Linked DNA regions of Homo sapiens: regions 1 and 2 are each linked to region 3. The links are contacts of gene promoters, found by promoter capture Hi-C in blood cells and fetal thymus (Javierre and others, 2016). All regions are on one chromosome and are shown on one strand. Each heading gives the region's core, a stretch centred on a gene start or on the middle of the fragment in contact. The rest is flanking DNA. Distances are from core to core; before and after follow the strand shown.

The links. Contacts are between HindIII fragments. The CHiCAGO score rates a contact against its expected background, and 5 or more counts as called.
Region 1: a contact is called between a fragment that was not itself captured here and the fragment with the promoter of SMG7-AS1 in region 3, in 1 of 17 cell types (naive CD8 T cells). The highest score is 5.8, in naive CD8 T cells.
Region 2: a fragment that was not itself captured here is called in contact with the fragment with the promoter of SMG7-AS1 in region 3 in 1 of 17 cell types (activated CD4 T cells); the score reaches 5.2 in activated CD4 T cells.

Annotation. Positions count from the first base shown.
Region 1 is chr1:186,381,014-186,383,713 of GRCh38, reverse strand. It overlaps ODR4 (odr-4 GPCR localization factor homolog), which reads right to left. Exons shown (of 14, transcript NM_017847.6): 3 at 558-692. Among named protein-coding and RNA genes, the nearest start is that of ODR4, 6.5 kb to the right of the region's middle. The HindIII fragment of the contact is 1,244 bases long and covers 716-1,959 here.
Region 2 is chr1:180,503,004-180,505,703 of GRCh38, reverse strand. No RefSeq gene overlaps it. Among named protein-coding and RNA genes, the nearest start is that of ACBD6, 1.8 kb to the right of the region's middle. The HindIII fragment of the contact is 1,615 bases long and covers 615-2,229 here.
Region 3 is chr1:183,470,594-183,473,293 of GRCh38, reverse strand. It overlaps SMG7-AS1 (SMG7 antisense RNA 1), which reads left to right and starts at 1,312. Exons shown (of 5, transcript NR_040063.1): 1 at 1,312-2,574. It overlaps SMG7 (SMG7 nonsense mediated mRNA decay factor), which reads right to left and starts at 795. Exons shown (of 23, transcript NM_001375584.1): 1 at 645-795. The coding sequence starts at 673. RefSeq lists a silencer at 808-957 and an enhancer at 1,113-1,744. The HindIII fragment of the contact is 8,906 bases long and covers 1-2,700 here.

The DNA.
Region 1 (2,700 bases), core at 88-2,587, 2.9 Mb before region 3:
CACAAATATATGTCCATATATATATATATATATATCTACATACACAGAAACACGTTTGAGTTTAAAAGATTTAAAGATTTAAAGTTGATTGGAAAAGGAAATAAATCTTTTATTTATTAAAGAAAATTCTTTTTCTTAAAACAAACAAACAAAAACGCAGAATGTGCAAGTCTGTCACATAGGTTTACGTGTGCCATGGTGGCTTGCTGCACCTATTGACCTGTCCTCTAAGTTCCCTCCCCTCACCCCCAACCCCAGAAAAGGAAATAATTCTATTTTTACCTTATTCTAACATTATTTATTTGATGATATATAATTCATTCAATAAATACTTGTAAGTGAATTAATTTAGTCATTATTCCCACTCACCCATCCCAAATCTGTTTCTTCCTCGTGTAATGCCAACAGTATCCTCCTAGACACCCAGACTAAAAATCTCAGTCATCTTTAGCTACTTTCTCCCTATGTCTCTTCTCTCTACTCATTCACTAAATCTTCTTGATTCTAGCTCTTTTTTGAAATAAAACTTAAACATATAAACAAAAAAATAAGATAACCTGGCAGGCATGTTCTGTGGCCCATTCTTCATCCAAGTTATCCAACTTAGCTTTGGGATGTTTGAGGTTCTCACTTTGCTCCTCTTTGGGTGGCGTTCTAGTGGCAAGAATCACATAATCCTTTTGTGACGAACACTTCAACAACAAATTAAAAAGCTTGTTAGAGTGATATCTGATTCCTCAATCTAATTAGAGTGATACCTAAATTCCTTAGCTTTTATGACATGCAAAAACTGAGTAATATTTGTAACAGGTTAAATCATTAATACCCACATTATAATGGAAGCTAAAGGGAAGCTAATTTTCAAGGATGGCCTTACAATCTTTCCCTCACATGTTGTTTATCTTTTAATGTATTTAATATCAGCTTCTTATTTATTTGGACAACTCAAATGTAAATCATGGAGTGGTCCCTAAAAATGGTTTACTGGATGAGTGAATGAATTACATTAACTAAAAAGTAATATGCTTATTCAGTTTTCTAGTTATATTTGTTTTATAAGTTATAAATGAACAGATCGGAAAATATTAGTAAAATGAAACAACAAGTGACCTTTTGTATCTTATTTTAATTGAAATGATGACAGTAGGGAACTTCCACATACATTTCCACAGAATAACAAAGGGGATTTGGGACACAATTTAAAGTGATACAGATTCTATGTTCCTCAAGTTTTTTGTTTTGTTTTGTTTTTTGTTCTTTGTGTGTGTGTGTATTTATTTATTTATTTAGAGACAGGGTCTTGCTCTAATGCCCAGGCTGGAGTGCAGTGGTGTGATCATAGCTCACTGCAACCTTGCACTCCTGGGCTCAAGCAATCCTCCCCCCAAGTAGTCTCCCAAGTAGCTAGGACTACAGGCTCAAACAATCAGCCATAATGCCTGGCTTTTTTTTTTTTTTTTTTTTACTTTTTTGTAGAGACAGAGTCTTGCTATGTTGCCCAGGCTAGGTCAAACTCTGACCTTCAAGCAATCCTCCCACCTCGGCCTCCCAAAGCATTGGGATTACAGGCATGAGCCACCACACCCAATCTGTTCTTCAGCTGTAATATCAGTTAAGTAGTAACCAAAGTTGGGAGATCTAAAAATAAATGTAGGGGAACATTCAATAGCTCAGTTTCACTACAGTGAAAGTTTCCTATAAAAAAAGAGTGAAAATAACACTGCTAATGCAAGTTAGCATTGTATCTTCCCCACACATGACCTGAAACTCTGATCATTAGTATCATCTTGGGATAGAAAATAAGAGTAACTATTCCTACAGGTTATTTTCAGGAAGTTACATTCAAATAAACACAGGAAAAGAAAGTAGGTCTCAGTTAAGAAGGCTCCTCTTTTCTTCATAAAATGTATAACTTTGAAAAGAAAAAGAAACTGACAGAGACCAGGAAACAGGCAAGCTTAAGAGGAAGGAGAGGAAAAAGTAATGAACTCTGGAAGAAAAAGCACGTAGAATACTGAAAGGAATGAATTGCTCTGTCCGTGAGCAATACATACTACAGCATAAAAAGAGATAGAAGGAAGGCCTTAGGCCGGGCGCGGTGGCTCACGCCTGTAATCCCAGCACTTTGGGAGGCCGAGGCAGGCGGATCACGAGATCAGGAGATCGAGACCATCCTGGCTAACACGGTGAAACCCCGTCTCTACTAAAAATACAAAAAATTAGCCGGGCGAGGTGGCGGGCGCCTGTAGTCCCAGCTACTCGGGAGGCTGAGGCAGGAGAATGGCGTGAACCCCAGGGGGCGGAGCCTGCAGTGAGCCGAGATTGCGCCACTGCACTCCAGCCTGGGCGACAGCGAGACTCCGTCTCAAAAAAAAAAAAAAGAAGGAAGGCCTTAAATTATGAGACACTCATTTGTAAGATGGCAGTTTGCCTGAGCTTTAGAAACAACCTTTATCCAGTTAAGACAAATTTAGAAGAGGGTCTTTCTCCCTGACTTTTTATCTCTACTGATCACATCTTTCTCTAAGACTCTTCTTCTCTTAAATGTTTTAAACAAAGAGAAAGAAAAAAACTTAAATAGAAAACTCCTAACAAAAAGAGCCCCACATTACAACTGAATTAAAAAGAAATTCACACTGTTCTCAAGAGAGGCAGTCTGGCTGTCTAATGAGAGGCCTCACAGAGTGGTGCTACCTGGTT
Region 2 (2,700 bases), core at 173-2,672, 3.0 Mb after region 3:
TTAGTAGAGACAGGGTTTCACCATGTTGGCCAGGCTGGTCTCAAACTCCTGACCTCAGATGATCCGCCCGTCTTGGCCCTGCAAAGTGCTGGGATTACAGGCATGAGCCACTGTGTGCCTGGCCTTGGGGTTTTATATATTGGCTTACTTCTGCGGTCTTGCATTACTTCTCCCCGATTCTTCCCTTGGGGTGGGCTGTCCGCATGCACATGCTTGAGCCCACTCGCCCCACTCCTGAGATCTTATCGGGAAGCTGCTGATCACTAGTTTCAGGTGTTTTCTATCAGGAGCCTGCTGTTCCCTGGTGCCAGCTGTGATCAATTATTATTTTAGTGAGACAGTTAACAACCGCTTGACCATCACCTGATGGTTGCCCGACATTCCTGATATGTGCGTGTGGTGCGGAGCCCTCTCCTGCCCTGCTCATTCCTGACTAGCTACCTACTGTAACAAGATTGAGATCTTGGGCATCTCAGTCTTATCTATAGAGAAGTGGCTAGCATGAGAATAAAGCTGCAATTTTAAAGTAGTAGTAGTTATTTGTTTGGGCCAAGAAAAAGGTGTTGTATTTTGTAGTCAGTAAAGTGAGCTTTTTGTCTGTGCTTAGAAAAGCTTAATGAAGTGGTTTGCTTTGTATCATTGTATCATGATTTCAGAGTGACCTTGTCTGCAGTTGCTATTTTGTGAGATTATTTCTCTTCAATAGGAGAATAACAAGGCCTAGCTGTGAGTGTCAGGCCAGCTTCTCAATGTTAAGGACTCTTTCCTTTTTCTTTCTTACATTTTAGTTTTATAATACATTTTTCATTCAAATATACATACAGAAAAGTACATAAATTATAAATGAATTTTCATAAAGTGAACACATCAGTGTACTAATGTTCGGCTTAAGAAACAACATATCCAACTTCCAGAAGTCCCCTTCATGCACCCTTCAGATCACTAACCCTGAGGTTACCCACTATCCTGAGTCTAACACCACAGATTAGTTTTGCCTGATTTTGAATTTTTTATGACTAGAAACATGTAATATGCACTTTTTTGAGTATAGGCTTATACTCAACATTATGTTTGAGATTCATTCATGTTATTCTGTGTCATTGTAATTAGTTCATTCTCACTGATGAATAGTATTCCATCATGTAAGCACACCAGTTTATCTCCATTCTAGTGTTGATGGACATTCAGGAGCTTCCAGTTTGGAGCAATTAGGAATTAGTTCATAGTGCTGCTATGAATGTTCTCGTACATGTTTTTGGTGAATGCCATGTATATATTCCCGCTGGGGAGGAGTCGAATTGTTGTATATTTATGTTCAGCTTTAGTAGATAGTGCCAAACATTTTTCCACAGTGATTGTACCAATTTATGCTCACACCAGCAGTGTAAAAGAATTCTGGTTGCTCTCTTTCCCATGTTATGTAAACTCTTCCAGAATACAGAAAAAGATGAAAACTTCTAAATGCATTCTACAAGGATTCTATTACCTTGATACAAAATTGAGAAAGTATAGAAAAGGAAAACTATAGGTTAATGACATCTTTAAATGGAACTGTAAAGATAATGAAAATATTAGCAAACTGAACCTACAAATTTTTTAAAAAAACCAAACCAGGACCAGAATGGGTTTATTCCAAGAACAGAAGTAATGCTCAAAACTAGGAGGTTTTGAAATAATGCATACTAATTTATCAATGTTAGCTATTATATAATTCATTAAATCCCAAATTTATTTTTGTTAATATAATTCATTAAAATAGAAACTGTTAATATAATTCCTTTCGAAGACTAGAGGAGAAAAGCAGATAATCTCCAAAGATGCCAAAAAAGCCGTTGATAATATTCAATTCTCACTTTAATAAAAATTCTAGAAACAAAGATATAAAAGTCCATGTTATATCTCCTTCAGTCTACTTGTCGGGTTCATCATCCATTATTACCCCACATGAAAGCTAACTTCTTTTTCCTTGCTCCTCCATTTGCTAGCTGTGTAGCCTTTGACAAGTTACTTAACCACTCTGTGCTGATTTCCTATGTGTAGTAAAATAAGAGTACCTACCTTATGTTGTAATGATCAAGTCCTCAATACATTATTCTTAATCACTTTTTAATTGCAAGAATTTGGTCATTAAACATCCCTTTGACTGGATTGCGAGCACCTTGACAGCAGGGACTAACAGTGGAACTTTCTGGAGACTTAAGGAATGTCTGTTGAATCCTGATGCAAGCTTTCTCACCTTCCTGTGTTCTCTCATTGCTTCCTCATCCTGTCCAGCCGTCCGTCCACCCGTCGCAAGCCTAACCCCAGTCAATAACCACTGTTTACAACACTTTCTTTGTACCCTTCTTATAGTGCTTATTACATTGTTTTGAATACTAAATGAATATATAGTGCGTCGTTGTGTTTAACATTTAGGACATAACCACTCATAATGTTACAGTTAAAAAAATAGTTTTGTGCATTCCTCTAGGGCCGAACTGTGCCGTACTTCTGGTTTCACTGTACAGTGTCTACAAAGCACAGTGTCAAAGACAGAGCTCGGGATGAGAACTGGGCTAAGGCGCGCCCCGAACTCCCCAAACCCTATTATTCAGGGCCCGGAGAGGTGCGGGCTCCGAAGGTGTGGAGAGCGAAACACGCAGAGCAGTGATTCCACTCATCAGTCACACAGTAAGACGGGACAGCCCCATCTCGCAGTTT
Region 3 (2,700 bases), core at 63-2,562:
ACCCAACCTTGTCCACAGTGCCTCCCTCTTTCCTCACTTCCCCATCTATTCCCCTTCACGCCTCCCCACACCGCCAACTAACTACAGATGACATTATTCCTCAATACTCCCAACCCGAGAATGAAGAACAAGCTCCAGTTTCCTGCGGTCTCCCTCTCCCCCTGTCTGCCCTCCGCGGTTCCCCCGCCCCAACACCCCAGGTGTGCAGACTTCCTCCCCGTCCTCTACTCATGCATCGCTCCAACCAATCCCACGCCACACCACGAGTCCCCTGCCACGGGGATCAGACTCCTCCACACCCACCTCCACTCGGGGTCGCCGCCGCCTCCCCGGACGTTTCTCTCCACCCCTCGCTAGCAAACCCGAGACCAAGGGCGCGCGCGCACATTCTCACGCTTCCCCAACCTCCCTCCTCGCACCGGGACGAGCCGGCTTCGCCAGAGCTCAGCCCGGGCGGTAGGGGCTAGGCACCCATACCCGTTCCGCCCCCTCCCGCAGATCCCCTTGCAGTCTCCGCCGACCTGCCCGGCGAGGAGAGGACGCAGCAACTCCCCCGCCACCCCGGACTTACCTCGGTGTCTGTTGCTCCATGCCCCAACCTGCGGCCCGCTCCCCCTACGTACCAGCCCGGCCTCGGCACTCACCGGAGGTACTGCGCGCTCTGCAGGCTCATCCTCCGCCGCCGCCGCCGCGTCTTCCCGCGAAGCCTCCGTGGGTCTCTCAGGCTCCTCGGAGCGGCCCCGCGGCACCGCGGGTGCTGGCGGCCGCCGCCATCTTCCTCTCCTCCGGCTCCTCCTCGCTCGGCAGGGGGGTGGGGGTGAATGAGGCGAGGGGGAGGGAGTGGGGAAAGCTGCTCTCGCTGCTGCTCTGGCCCGTGGGGCGCAGGGACACTCCGACCCGGGGGGGAGGGGGAGGGAGGAGGGGCGGGGGAAAGAGGAGAAGCAGAGGAAGTCGGCGACCGGGCGAGGGAGGGGGTCCCTCTCGCGAGATTTCAGCAGCGCCTGTCCCTCAGTGATTTCCGCCTCTCTGTAGCGCTCCCTTTTGGGATCAACGAGCTGTGTGGCGCCTGTGCGGCTTCTGAGAGACCGGCTGGTGGCGCTTGGCGGCTTCCTGCCAATCCACCCTTCTCCTCCCGCGCAAGGGGGCAATCCCAATCCCACCACCGGGAACACCCAGGCCAAAAGAACGGGAGTTACACTCAAAGTCTTCCCCCTTCTTATCACTCCTGCCGATTTCCCTCTTCCTTTTTGCACGCCTCCACTCTTCCCCACCGGAAACGCCGCCCCTTCCTCCTACAGTTCCTCCCAGCAGTCCCTCAACGCCTGTCTTCCCTCGCGCGTAGAGAGTGACTCGAAGGACCCCCTCTCCTCTTCGCTGCAGCCCCTCCCCATGCACGCTGGGAGACTCTTGGAGGGGATAAGGTGGGGCCCGGAGAGGAAGAGAAGACAATCGGATTGGATAGGCAGCTGCCATGGCAACTGGAGGCTGTGGTTATATTGTCATAGTAACCGATGTGTGCGGACAGGGTCACCCTCCCCTTGGCCAATGGATTCCCAGGAAACCACCCAGGGTTCCCCGTTGGCTTCCCTTCCATCTAAAGGCCTCCCCCAAGTTAGGAATCGATATAGTTCTCCCCGGTGGTGAAGTCCACTTCCTCCTCCCTTCCCACTTCCCACAGCAACTGGGGGGACACCCCGAGGCATTCACCATGGGCTTTTCCACCCGCCTGCGAGCGGGAACCACCTCCGTAGTTTCCTCTCAGAGCCGGGCGTGGAGAGGGCTGGGCCTGCGAAGAGGATGCATGGCCTGGAGGCTGGCGGGCGGCGGGCTGGAGTCGGGAGGGCGAGGCGACAGCGCCAAGCGGCGAGGAAGGGCAAGGGGTTTCCCCACAACTGCCTTGGGCTCTGGGAGGCGGGATCCCGCCTGGACGGGGTCCCTGAGGGAGGAGAGCGGCACACGACAGCCGCGATGCCTTCCCTGCCGACGGGGATAGCCGACTTCTGGCGAGTCGACCCCTCCCCCAAATCCACCCCACCCGCGTACTCCCTCCTGACCTAGCTGTCGCGAGCCTGCCGCGAGGAGGCCAGGGTGAGGGTGGGAACACATCCTAGAAGGCTAACACGTGGTTTTCTATCATTTAAGCCGGGGACAAGCCGGAAGGCTGACTAGCGCCATCACTCTGATAGGCACCCCGCAGTGGGGATCCTGCTTGATTATTAAAGGCAGACCTCCAAGTTCCTCCCTGCTCTGCAACCTTTCTCTTCTCACGGGTCTGCAGTGTTTTAAAAGTCGTCATTCTGTGTCGTTGAGTTAGAGAGGAAAACATCGGATAAAAGAGGATCAAGAAGAACGAACCCTAGATACATCTGTCTGGTGAAAGGAGTCTAGGAAAAGAAGTTTCATTCTTAGAACAAATCTTTTTGGATATTTATTATGTGTGTTTTGTGTCAGGTTTCGGGCCAAAAAGCTGAAATAAAGAACGAAGTCAATAATAATATGAAGTGTATGAGAAATAGCTGGAAAATTCATCATCCATGACTTGAAGAAATTGACGTTTTACAAGTTATATTTTCGGTTCGTATTGTGGAGTCACTTAAGGAGCTATCCCAAAGTACTTTAGGATATGTAACTATATAAAACCTTCCAAGAATGCAGCCCTCATAGGATAGTTAAAATAAGGATTTTAATGGGCTATTTTGA